Linked DNA regions of Homo sapiens: region 2 is linked to region 1. Evidence: promoter capture Hi-C in 16 types of primary human blood cells and fetal thymus (Javierre and others, 2016). All regions are on one chromosome and are shown on one strand. The core of a region is centred on a gene start or on the middle of the fragment in contact, and the rest is flanking DNA. Distances in the headings are between cores, read along the strand shown.

Evidence for each region. The method cuts DNA at HindIII sites, captures the fragments that hold promoters and counts their contacts. A CHiCAGO score of 5 or more calls a contact.
Region 2: a fragment that was not itself captured here is called in contact with the fragment with the promoter of DEFB112 in region 1 in 1 of 17 cell types (erythroblasts); the score reaches 6.0 in erythroblasts.

Annotation. Positions count from the first base shown.
Region 1 is chr6:50,047,927-50,053,160 of GRCh38, forward strand. DEFB112 (defensin beta 112) reads right to left here and starts at 2,003. Exons shown (of 2, transcript NM_001369057.2): 1 at 1,886-2,003. The coding sequence starts at 1,943. The HindIII fragment of the contact is 4,636 bases long and covers 1-2,063 here.
Region 2 is chr6:49,525,534-49,530,767 of GRCh38, forward strand. It overlaps GLYATL3 (glycine-N-acyltransferase like 3), which reads left to right. Exons shown (of 6, transcript NM_001010904.2): 6 at 955-2,545. The coding sequence ends at 1,381. Among named protein-coding and RNA genes, the nearest start is that of C6orf141, 23 kb to the right of the region's middle. The HindIII fragment of the contact is 8,083 bases long and covers 1-5,234 here.

The sequences.
Region 1 (5,234 bases), core at 753-3,252:
CCTCAGGTCAGGAGTTCGCTACCAGCCTAGCCAACATGGTGAAACCCTGTCTCTACTAAAAATACAAAAAATTAGCGGGGCGTGGTGGTGGGAGCCTGTAATCCCAGCTACTCCGGAGGCTGAAGCAGGAGAATTGCTTGAACCCGGGAGACGGTGGTTGCAGTGATCCAAGATAGTGTCATTGCACTCCAGCCTGGGCAACAAGAGTGAAACTCCGTCTCAAAAAAAAAAAAATAAATATGTCCAGCTGTTGAGTAGGAGGGAAACTGAGACAACAGTATAATTCCTAAGCACAATTACATTAAAACATTTTAAAAAGTAATAATGTTGCTGAGAACAATGGTTAGAAAACCTTTCTTCATGGAAATGATAAAAGGACATTTGTCTAGCCAGCATTTTATCAAAAAAATCGGCCTCTACAACCTTAAAATAAGATTTCTTTCTTGTTTTAAACATGAAATTCAGTCTTCATAAAGCTATGAGGTGAAAGACAAGAACATATAAGTAAACAGGGACTGAGGTAGAGAATATACTCAGAATATTTACTTCATTTCAGTCAAAAAGTATTGATTAAAATGTGCAAGACACAATTCTACTTATTTTGTTTTACCTGTGCTGATTTTCTCTGTCCCATGTCGGGCCTTTTCAAATATTGTGGAAGATGTATTTGTCTTTGAGTACATTTTTTCAAGTTTCAGTCTACATATGGTTGTCAATAATTTCATAAGAGTGCTAAGAGGTTGTTAAGAGCTCACTGTAAAGTGAAAAAATTACTTTAAAAGTAGGAGGAAAAATATTTTCAGAAATAAGGACACAAATGTAGTTGCCTCTATTTAATGGTCCTATATATTATAAAAGGTTTTACAAAATGATAAACATATAGTACATATGTTTAAAAATCCAGTTAAATGAATAAATGACTTGGCTATTAATAAGTTCACCTTGCATGGCTATTGTTAGGAAAAATAAATTAATACAGGCAAAAGGCTGAACAAATGCTAGCTATTAAAATCATTATTATGAAGAAAACCTATCAGTGTTTATTGAAATCTGTATAATTCTTTGTACCTCAGAAAAGTTCTAAATATAGAGAGAATTCTAATGAGCACACTTTAATTAATTTTTATAAAGAAGAAAAATTATTATCTGATTTAAATTAACTCCCTTGTTGGTTTACATTATTAACTGAAGTTCACCTCCTTGTCCCCTTTTGGTGAGAAATTATTAGCTAAAAAGCTATTTATGTTTAAATGTTAGGGCAGAATAACAGTAAAATAATGAGTTACTACAGATTTATTTTAAGGTTACCTCCTCTGATCTCAATACTGAAAGATATCTTGATAATCAGAGAAAGCAGCAAGATAAAGAAAAAGGAGAATTTAACTGGAAGTGAGCAGTAGACAAGTGCAGCTTGTCTCAATTGTTAATAAAATACAATCTGAAACTTTTAGCAAGACATTTTATCTGATTAACCTCTGCTATAAATATCACTGTGGGGATCAATGATTTCCAAGCATAATTCATAACTTTCCCAGTTTTTTCTAATCTATTAATAGATCAAATTCAGTTAAATTTGAGTGTTGAATAAATACACATTTCATGGATCTGTGAAATCAACGTAGCATTATTTTCTTCTAATCATTTACATATATGCATATATATGAATGTATATTTTCATGTAATTAAGGTGAATTACAGCCTTTTCTAGGATGCTGTGCTTGAAAAATTATTCAAATATTTTTACCTGAGAACTGTGAATAAATGTAATGTAACATGATGATGGTATTAATAAAATGTTTTATAATGTCAATTCTACTTTAAATAACCCAGCTCCCCGACTTTAATGCTGGCCCCTTGACCCCTCTAGCAATAATATTCATATTACCTGGTGGAATAAGGACTCCAAAGAAAAGCAAAATACAGAAAAAGAGAAGGATCTTCATTGTAAATGATTTCTTGGTATAAAACAGTGTACAGATCATCTGTCTGACTCAGCTGTTGTTGAAACAAGAAAAAAAAACCCTTACATTTAAAGAATTCTTCTGCATAGTTTTGACTACTGAAGCTTATTAAGAGTGAGAACATTTCTATGCTTGGTGCATAGTGCCATATTCAAAGAGATAGTGACTAGAAAAAGCTGCATTGTCACACAAAAGTTACATCTGCTGATTTCTCTTGCAGTCAGTTTCTTTAAGAAACTTTAACAGTTACAAGAATATGGGTATAAATTGCTAAGTGACCAAGATCCGAAATAGTCCTGCAGCAATTCACTTGATACCCCAGGAGTACTAGTTTTATATAATTCCATTCACTATTTTAATGGCCCCAGTATTAACAATGAATCTCAATGTAATAAGAAATCAAAACCACAGAACTTTAGACTGAAATTATCATACAGAATATTTAATTTTACATATAAAAATGTTGAGATCCAGATTTGTCAGGTAATTTTATAATCCATACCTTCTTTACTTAAATTATGTATGAACATAAATCATGACAGTATTCTGGTGTTTATGGATATTATCCTATCGAGCTTAGCTGTACCACAAAGAAAGGTCTGTCCCCTCAAGTAGGATTTGTGAATGTCAGTGCAAAAACATTCAATGTTATAAACCTAGAATGCATTTCTCTGTTTGTTTGTTGTTATTTTCTATGTAGTGAGAAGTTATTTCTGAGTTAATTTGTAAGTTTTCCAAAGTCGACTATAGCAGATATACGATAAAGAGTTGATATTGTTCCCCAGACCCCATAAGGAATAATGACCCATTGAATCTCTCTTACTATACTCATAAAGAGCACTAAGAATCTGGGTGTAAAGAAGCCCCAGTTAATATTAGTCATCCTTATTTTACATTTATGAGAATGTTATTTACAAAGGTGTTGCAACTGAAACATGTACAAATAATCAGAATTGTGGCAAGGCTTCCTGGGCAAAGTGATAAAGAGATATGATCAATAATTTTTCCCTTCTACAACCAAATTCTTCACTGATAAAATATGAATTAAAAGTAAAGGACTTGACTAGATGCAGTGACTCATGCCTGTAGTCTCAGCACTTTTGGGGGCCGAGACAGACAGAGCGCTTGAGCTCCAGAGTTCAAGACCAGTCTGGGCAACACGGTGAAACCCCATCTCTACAAAAATACAAATATTAGCCAGGAGTGGTGACACACGCCTGTAGTCTCAGCTACACTGGGATGCTGTGGTGGGCAGATCTCCTGAGCCCTGGGAGGTCGAGGCTGCAGTGAGCCATGATCATGCCGCTGTACTCCAGCCTGGGTGACAGAGTGAGACACTGTCTCAAAAAAAAAAGCTAAGAATTTATACTAAAAGCTAAGGACTTACTGGGGTTCACTGAATAGAGGATTTAACTATCATTTGACATAGTATAAGATTATTTAAACCCATCCCTATGTAAGATTAATTGAACAGATATTAATCAAACACCTACCATGTGCCTGTTACTTTTCTAGTTGCTGTGGTACAGCTGTGAAAAAGATAGGGCATTTGATTGTTGTAGATGAGACAAAGTTCTAATTGGGCACTGAAACCAAAACCCAAATTTCATTAGAAATAATTTATATATTATTATGCTTTCTTTGTTATCAGAACTTCTGTGAATAAACACAAAGAAAGAAGAGCAAAGAAGATAAATGTCTCATTGATTTTTAATTTTAGCTCTTTCCAAAGACATGACAAGGGTGCAATATTGCTGCCTTACTGCAAGGACTAAAGTCATTTAGAAATTTTATTTTGAATACTTATTTGTTAAATCCAAAGAGTGAAAAATCAAACAGCAACATGACAGTATTACAGGTGATTCACTTAGGGGACTTTGTGACCCAGGTCTAATCCCATGGAGAATGTGGAAACTGCTCCTTTTTTTGAACAGGTAAACATCGATCCTGTATTATAAATGTCCAACATATTAAACACATTCTACAGGATCTACACCACAAAACAGAAATAGAGTATGCCTTTCAACATTTGGTATTTGGACGTAAGAATACATACACTTTAAATTGCTTTTTTTGAATATATTAAGAATTTTAAATCACAAACAATAGAATTATGCAGGAATACTTGGATTCACTGATCTCATGGCCACCTCCTAGTCGCTGTAGATGTTTAGAAAACAAATAAATAAAACATTTTCACTGCCTTAAGAAACTCAAATTATTTTTGAAAAGACATGCAAATAAATATATGACAAATGAATAAAATAAATGCTATGAATGTTTTATGACAATAGTTCTCATGTGTTTTCTGAGTATAGTATTTTTTTTAACTGAAGCACAGATAAATCTCAATACATTTGAAGCTTGCATATTATAAGGTTTCTGGACCAAAATTTTGTTGATTTAATAAGAAACTTTGTCCTGAGGAAACTAAAGCTAACACTAGTATGCTGAAGAAAATATTTTATCCTTCTTTATTTTCCCTTTACAGTCTAATTCTACATTTAGTTACACAATTAGTGAGTGACTTGGGTTCTACAAAATTTAGGTTTAACAAAAACCTCATCACCCTGGATAATAAAGACACACAAATTATACTTACCCTCTGCTGGTCAAGGAATAAGAAGAGTAACTCCCATTGGACCACTGAGGGTGCCTCTGCATGAACAAAATGTCCCCAGTTAAGTTGTTAAGCTGTTTTTTGTTCCTAATAAATTGTTATTTTTCACTGCCTAAGAAAAAAACTTTCAATTTTCCTAAATATTTTAGAGGAAAATTTATAGAGAAGTTGAGTGCATTTATGCTTATGCTCATATTTAAATGTCTTCTTTGTTAACTACATAGCCATTTTGCTTCCTTGTCATTTATCACCTAAATATCGGTAAGATAACTCTGCTTGAAAAGATATATCTAGACAATCATCAAATATCCCTTTTCATTTTTAACCTAATTTTAGTGACCACTGTGAAGAGCATCAGCTCCATAGAATATAAATTCATGAGTCACCAAGTCCTCTTTTCTCTCTGTTTGTTTTGCTCATTCATTGACCGTAACCAGGACCGGAGAGAATTTTAGTAAACCTATGTGTTAATTAAGCCTCAACAAGCAGATAGCAATGACATCCCTGCCATCTGTATAGCTTAATTTTTACGTATATATTAAATATAAATTGGTTGCTGTGTAGGCTCATAATTAAGAGATTGATCAAATCTGTTACCCCATTTTCTAACTTTATGTTAAAGTAATGAATATATAGCACCTTTATCACTGCAA
Region 2 (5,234 bases), core at 989-3,488, 520 kb before region 1:
CAAACTGAGAGACAGAGCAAGGCTCTCAAAAAAAAAAAAAAAAAAAAAAAAAAAAAAAAAAATTCAGCAACGTTTATTTGAGCAAAGAACAGTTCATGAATCTGGCAGCACTCAGAATGAGAAGTTCAGAGTTATACCCACCAGTGGGAGATTTTATACGCCAGACACAGAAGCAAAGTAGGTAAATCCTCTGATTGGCAACAGTTAGGTATATTTGGGCATGGTCTGCTCACTTACCTGCCTGTGATTGACTTGTATAACAAACTCAGCTGTGCATTATAGTTCTAGGGTTGGTTTTGTGTCAAGTTAGGTTGCAGTTCAACACGCGGGGACTCAAGGTATGGAGGGAGCTGCAGGCCAAACTTAATTTATTTAACAACAGAAACACTTTCCTTAACCTGTGCTGAAGGCAAAAGCAAGTGAACATAAAATTAGAAGCAACGACTTAAATTTGATGTAATAAGTGTTTTGTCTTCTCAGAAATGAAACCCGGAAAGGTGTTGGTAAATCGGGAATGGTGGATTCTAACTCACTGAAAATCTTAGGTGCCCTCTCAGGGATGGTTTCTCAGTTTGAACCAATATGAAAAGAGTAGTTATAGGTCGGGCATGGTGGCTCACGCCTATAATCTCAGCTCTTTGGGAGGCCGGGAGGGGTGAATCACGAGGTCAGGAGTTCGAGAACAGCCTGGCCAACATCGTGAAATCCCGTCTCTACTAAAAATACAAAAATTAGCTGGGATGGTGACGGGTGCCTGTAATCCCAGCTACTTGGGAGGCTGAGGCAGGAGAATTGCTTGAACCCGGGAGGCAGAGGTTGCAGTGAGCAGAGATCACGCCACTGCACTCCAGCCTGGGCGACAGAGCAAGACTGTGTCTCGAAAAAAAAAATGTGTAGTTATGTATAACCACATGAGTCTGAGGTCCTATTTGTTTTTGTGTCATTCTGGTCTAGCAAGGGGCCTTCCCCACGACTAACCTACCTGAGTGTTGCCAATGCGGATCTACTCAACCGGACTTGGTCCCGGGGAGGCAATGAACAATGTCTCCGGTACATCGCCAACCTCATCTCCTGCTTCCCTAGTGTGTGTGTCCGGGATGAGAAGGGAAACCCGGTCTCCTGGTCCATCACAGACCAGTTTGCCACCATGTGCCATGGCTACACCCTGCCAGAACATCGCAGGAAAGGTTACAGCCGGCTGGTGGCCCTCACGCTGGCCAGGAAGTTGCAAAGCCGGGGATTCCCCTCTCAGGGGAACGTCCTGGATGACAACACGGCGTCTATAAGCCTCCTGAAGAGTCTCCATGCTGAGTTCTTGCCTTGTCGCTTCCACAGGCTTATTCTCACCCCTGCGACTTTCTCTGGCCTGCCTCACCTCTAGCCCAGTAAAAAACTGCAGTGGTTTTATTACTTTCCCTGAGCATACACACACTCTTGGCTGCCAACGAGGGGAGAGTTAAAATGGGAATCAGGGGACTCTTGAGTTGTTGGAAAGGGTCTGGAGAATATATACAGGATCCACTTGAGAAGCCTTAATTTTTCGTATCTCAGGTTTCTCCAGTAAATAGCTGTGGGGGTGAAGAGTAGCTGTGGCTGAAGACTGAGGACGATTGTCCTCCTGTAGGATCCACTGTAGGAGAATAGGTTCTAAAGCCAGCAGTTTTAGTGTACTAGGAGAAATTACTGCATGAGAACAAATGATTTAACAGAGGACCACGTGGCTACTGCTTTTTGATTGCTGCTTGGACCTCTGCTCTGTATTCTTAAAGCCACACCGCTTCCCTACTGCCATCATATTCCCCTGTCCCCACTGCTATGTCTCATCAACCTCTGTTCCTAACACCTCTGCCACCAAGTTCTCTGTAGAGTAACCTCCTTTTTCCCCTTTAATTACTTGCTCTTTACTTCTGCCTAGGACTCTAGCCTATAGTTCACTGCCCTGGGAATGTTCAAATATAGTGGTTCTTACATTTTAGTGTTTATCAGAATCACCCAGAGGGCAGGTTGCAACACACATCACTAGGCCTCTCCTTCTACGAGGTAGGGCCCAAAATTTGCATTTCTAACAGCTTCCCACTGCTTATTTGCCTTGGATGAATGACAATATGGGCATTTTGATGCTATAAACAAATGCTGTCACCATAGAACTAGACTTTACCTATAACCTATTTCAGCCCCCTTATTTATAGTCTACTTTCCCATATAAAACTAAGATTTATATATAGGGGTGTTTGGGGGTATGCAAATGAATATATAACATATATGCATACACATATATATACATTCTCTTCATTTCTTTTATATGTATAGGTATATACTCATAGAATTTTGATAAGATAATAAATTTTAACCCTTTGATTACATATGAAAAATTTGAGGACCAGAGAAAATAAATGACTTTTTCAAGATTATATTCTTTATAATCAGTACTGGAGGCAAAGCCAGAATGCTGCCATTTTAATTCCAATCTGTTATTTTCACTAAATCATGTATCCTTTTTTATAATGAAAATTAAAATGCTTACATAATTAAAATATTAATTTTAGTTTTCTCTTATTCTTGTCATTATTTCTTAATTTGGGTTCTGATTGCTTGTGTATGTATACCTTTCAAGGTCAGTAAAGAAAGAGATAAGCATCACCAGCTCTGTTCTCTATTTATAATAAAAGCAGGCACTAACACAATAGTTAGATTTGCCTTGTCTTGATAATGTTGACTTAGCTATATAGAAAATATTGGTTTCTTATCCCCAAGGAGGTCACAAAATTCTGACTACAAAGATAAGGGAAAATCCAACTTTCAGGCATTCATTCTGAGAAAAGGAAGCAAACTGGCTGAAGTAAAACACATTTTAATTAAAAAAATAGGACTCAGTAAGAGTAAATATATGCTTAGTTCATCCTGAGCCCACAGTTACCTGGAAACTTATCTAGCCTTGGATCCAGAGGGGAAAGCACCAAGTAACCAGAGTCCATAAACCTCTTAGGAGAATATGCCCTAAGGACGCTAATTATGTTTAGCATCGCTTAAGCATGAGTTAATCCTGCTTGATATATAGCAATATTATTATAGCCTTATTTTCTTCCTAATGATAATTTGCCTGACATTTAACGTTTAACTATGTGCTAATAATTGTACCAAATATGAGATGTATATAACTTAATCCTGGTGAGGGATAAGGTATTGCTTTGTTGTGGGAATTCTTGCTTAGAGGTGTTATGAGTCACCAAAGTCATGCAGGCTCTAAGTGGCCAAATCATGATCAGAACATGGGTTTGTTGGATTGCAAAGCCTATACTACTAGTCATTATGCTAATTGGCCTCTTAAGCAGCTTGGAACAGTTTGTAAATAATTATTCCCTTATCTCGTTACATTCTGAATTTTCTACCTTCACCCGCACCTCCAAAACAGACCCCATATTTGAAAGATTTTTGTTCCTACCAAATTGCTCTTATACTATTTTCTTACTTTCATCTTCCAGCTAACTATGTTGGATATAATTGCTCAACTTTTAACACTGTTTCTGACCCTTTTAAGGCATGTGCAGAGAAAGTCTGGAGTAAGGAGAGGACAAGGAGAAGAGAAAAACTCAAGAAGTAGAAACGGGGCCAGGCGTGGGGGCTCACACCTGTAATTCCAGCACTTTGGAAGGCCAAGGCAGATGGATCACTTGAGACCAGGAGTTAGAGAACATCCTGGCCAACATGGCAAAAACCCATCTCTATTAAAAATACAAAAATTAGCTGGGCATGGTGGCACATGCCTGTAAGCCCAGCTGCTTGGGTGGCTGAGGCATGAGAATCACTTGAATCCAGGAAGCAGAGGTTGCAGTGAGCCAAGATAGCGCCACTGCACTCCAGCCTGGGCAACAGAGCCAGACTGTGTCTCAACAAAAAGAAGTAGGAAGAGGCTTGATTAACATAGGTTTTATTTGTTAATTCAAGGAAATTCTTCAATGTAATATAAAAACCAAAAAAAAAGCCTTAAGCAGCGCATTAATCTGTTTGGAAATTAGTTGGGAGGCTATAAGCTAAGCAAAAGGTGGTGGTAGCTTGGATCTGAATGCTAGCAATGATAATGGTGAAAAGTGAACAGTTACTTAAACTATTTAAAAGGAAGAGTTGTCAGAACTTAATAATTTAGTGGCTGTAGGGTATGCTGAGAGAGAAATGTCAAGGATGACTACTGGGCTTCTACGTTGTGAAAGCCACAGCTGGTGATAGTTTTCACTGAGATCAGAAACCCTGGAAAAATCTCAGATCTGGAGCAATTTGTAGCAGGGAAAATTGTTTGTTCAGTTTTGGGATGTTGAGTTTTGAAACATGCAAGTGATGGGACCAAGTTGGATATTTGAGTCTAAATCTCAGAGAATTTATTTGGGATAGATGTATTGACTTAGATGATAACAGATATAGATATAGATATAGATATAGATATAGATATAGATATAGATATAGATATAAATATAGATATAGATAACAGATAACTGATATAGATGATAACAGAAGCCATGAATTTAGCTGAGGTTGTCTAGGACTGAACCTTAAATGCATCAACTATTTAAGGCAAGGGAAAAGAAAGGCTCTGGAATAGGAGAAGGAGCAGCCAGAAGATAGGAGGAAAGCCAGGAGATGACTCCCATGGAAGAGAAAGAAGAAAAATTTAAAAATGGAGGGATGGTCAATGGTGTCAAATTATGCTGAGAGGTCAAGAATACATTAGGAATGAAACATCTTCATTCCATATTTCACTCTCAAATATTTTAAACATATGTACCAAAAAGAAGCCAGAAACTGCATATTGCATAATCCTGTTTCTATAAAGTTTAAAACCAGGCAAAATGAATCTATATCTGTAGAAGTCAGGAAGTAATTACCCTTCAGAAGGATAGTAAGTAAAACTGGACATGAAATGGCTTCTGGATTTCCAGTAATATTCTGATTCTTGACTTGGGTGGGTTACAAAGGTGTGTTCACTTTGTAACACTTTGTTACACAGCTGTGTTCCACTTGGTAACACAAGTATGTTCCCTCCAGCCCTGACTTAGCCAGGCCCTTCCCTGCTGGGCTCAGTCTTTCCATAGGCAAATCTGCATGACTAACCACCTCCTCCTCGCCCCCTGTGAGTCAGGGCCTAGAGCATATGATTATCAAGCTATATAATTATGATATATCTACTTTTCTGTATGCAAGTTGTACTGCAATAAGGAATATTCGTTAATAAAAAACAGGCC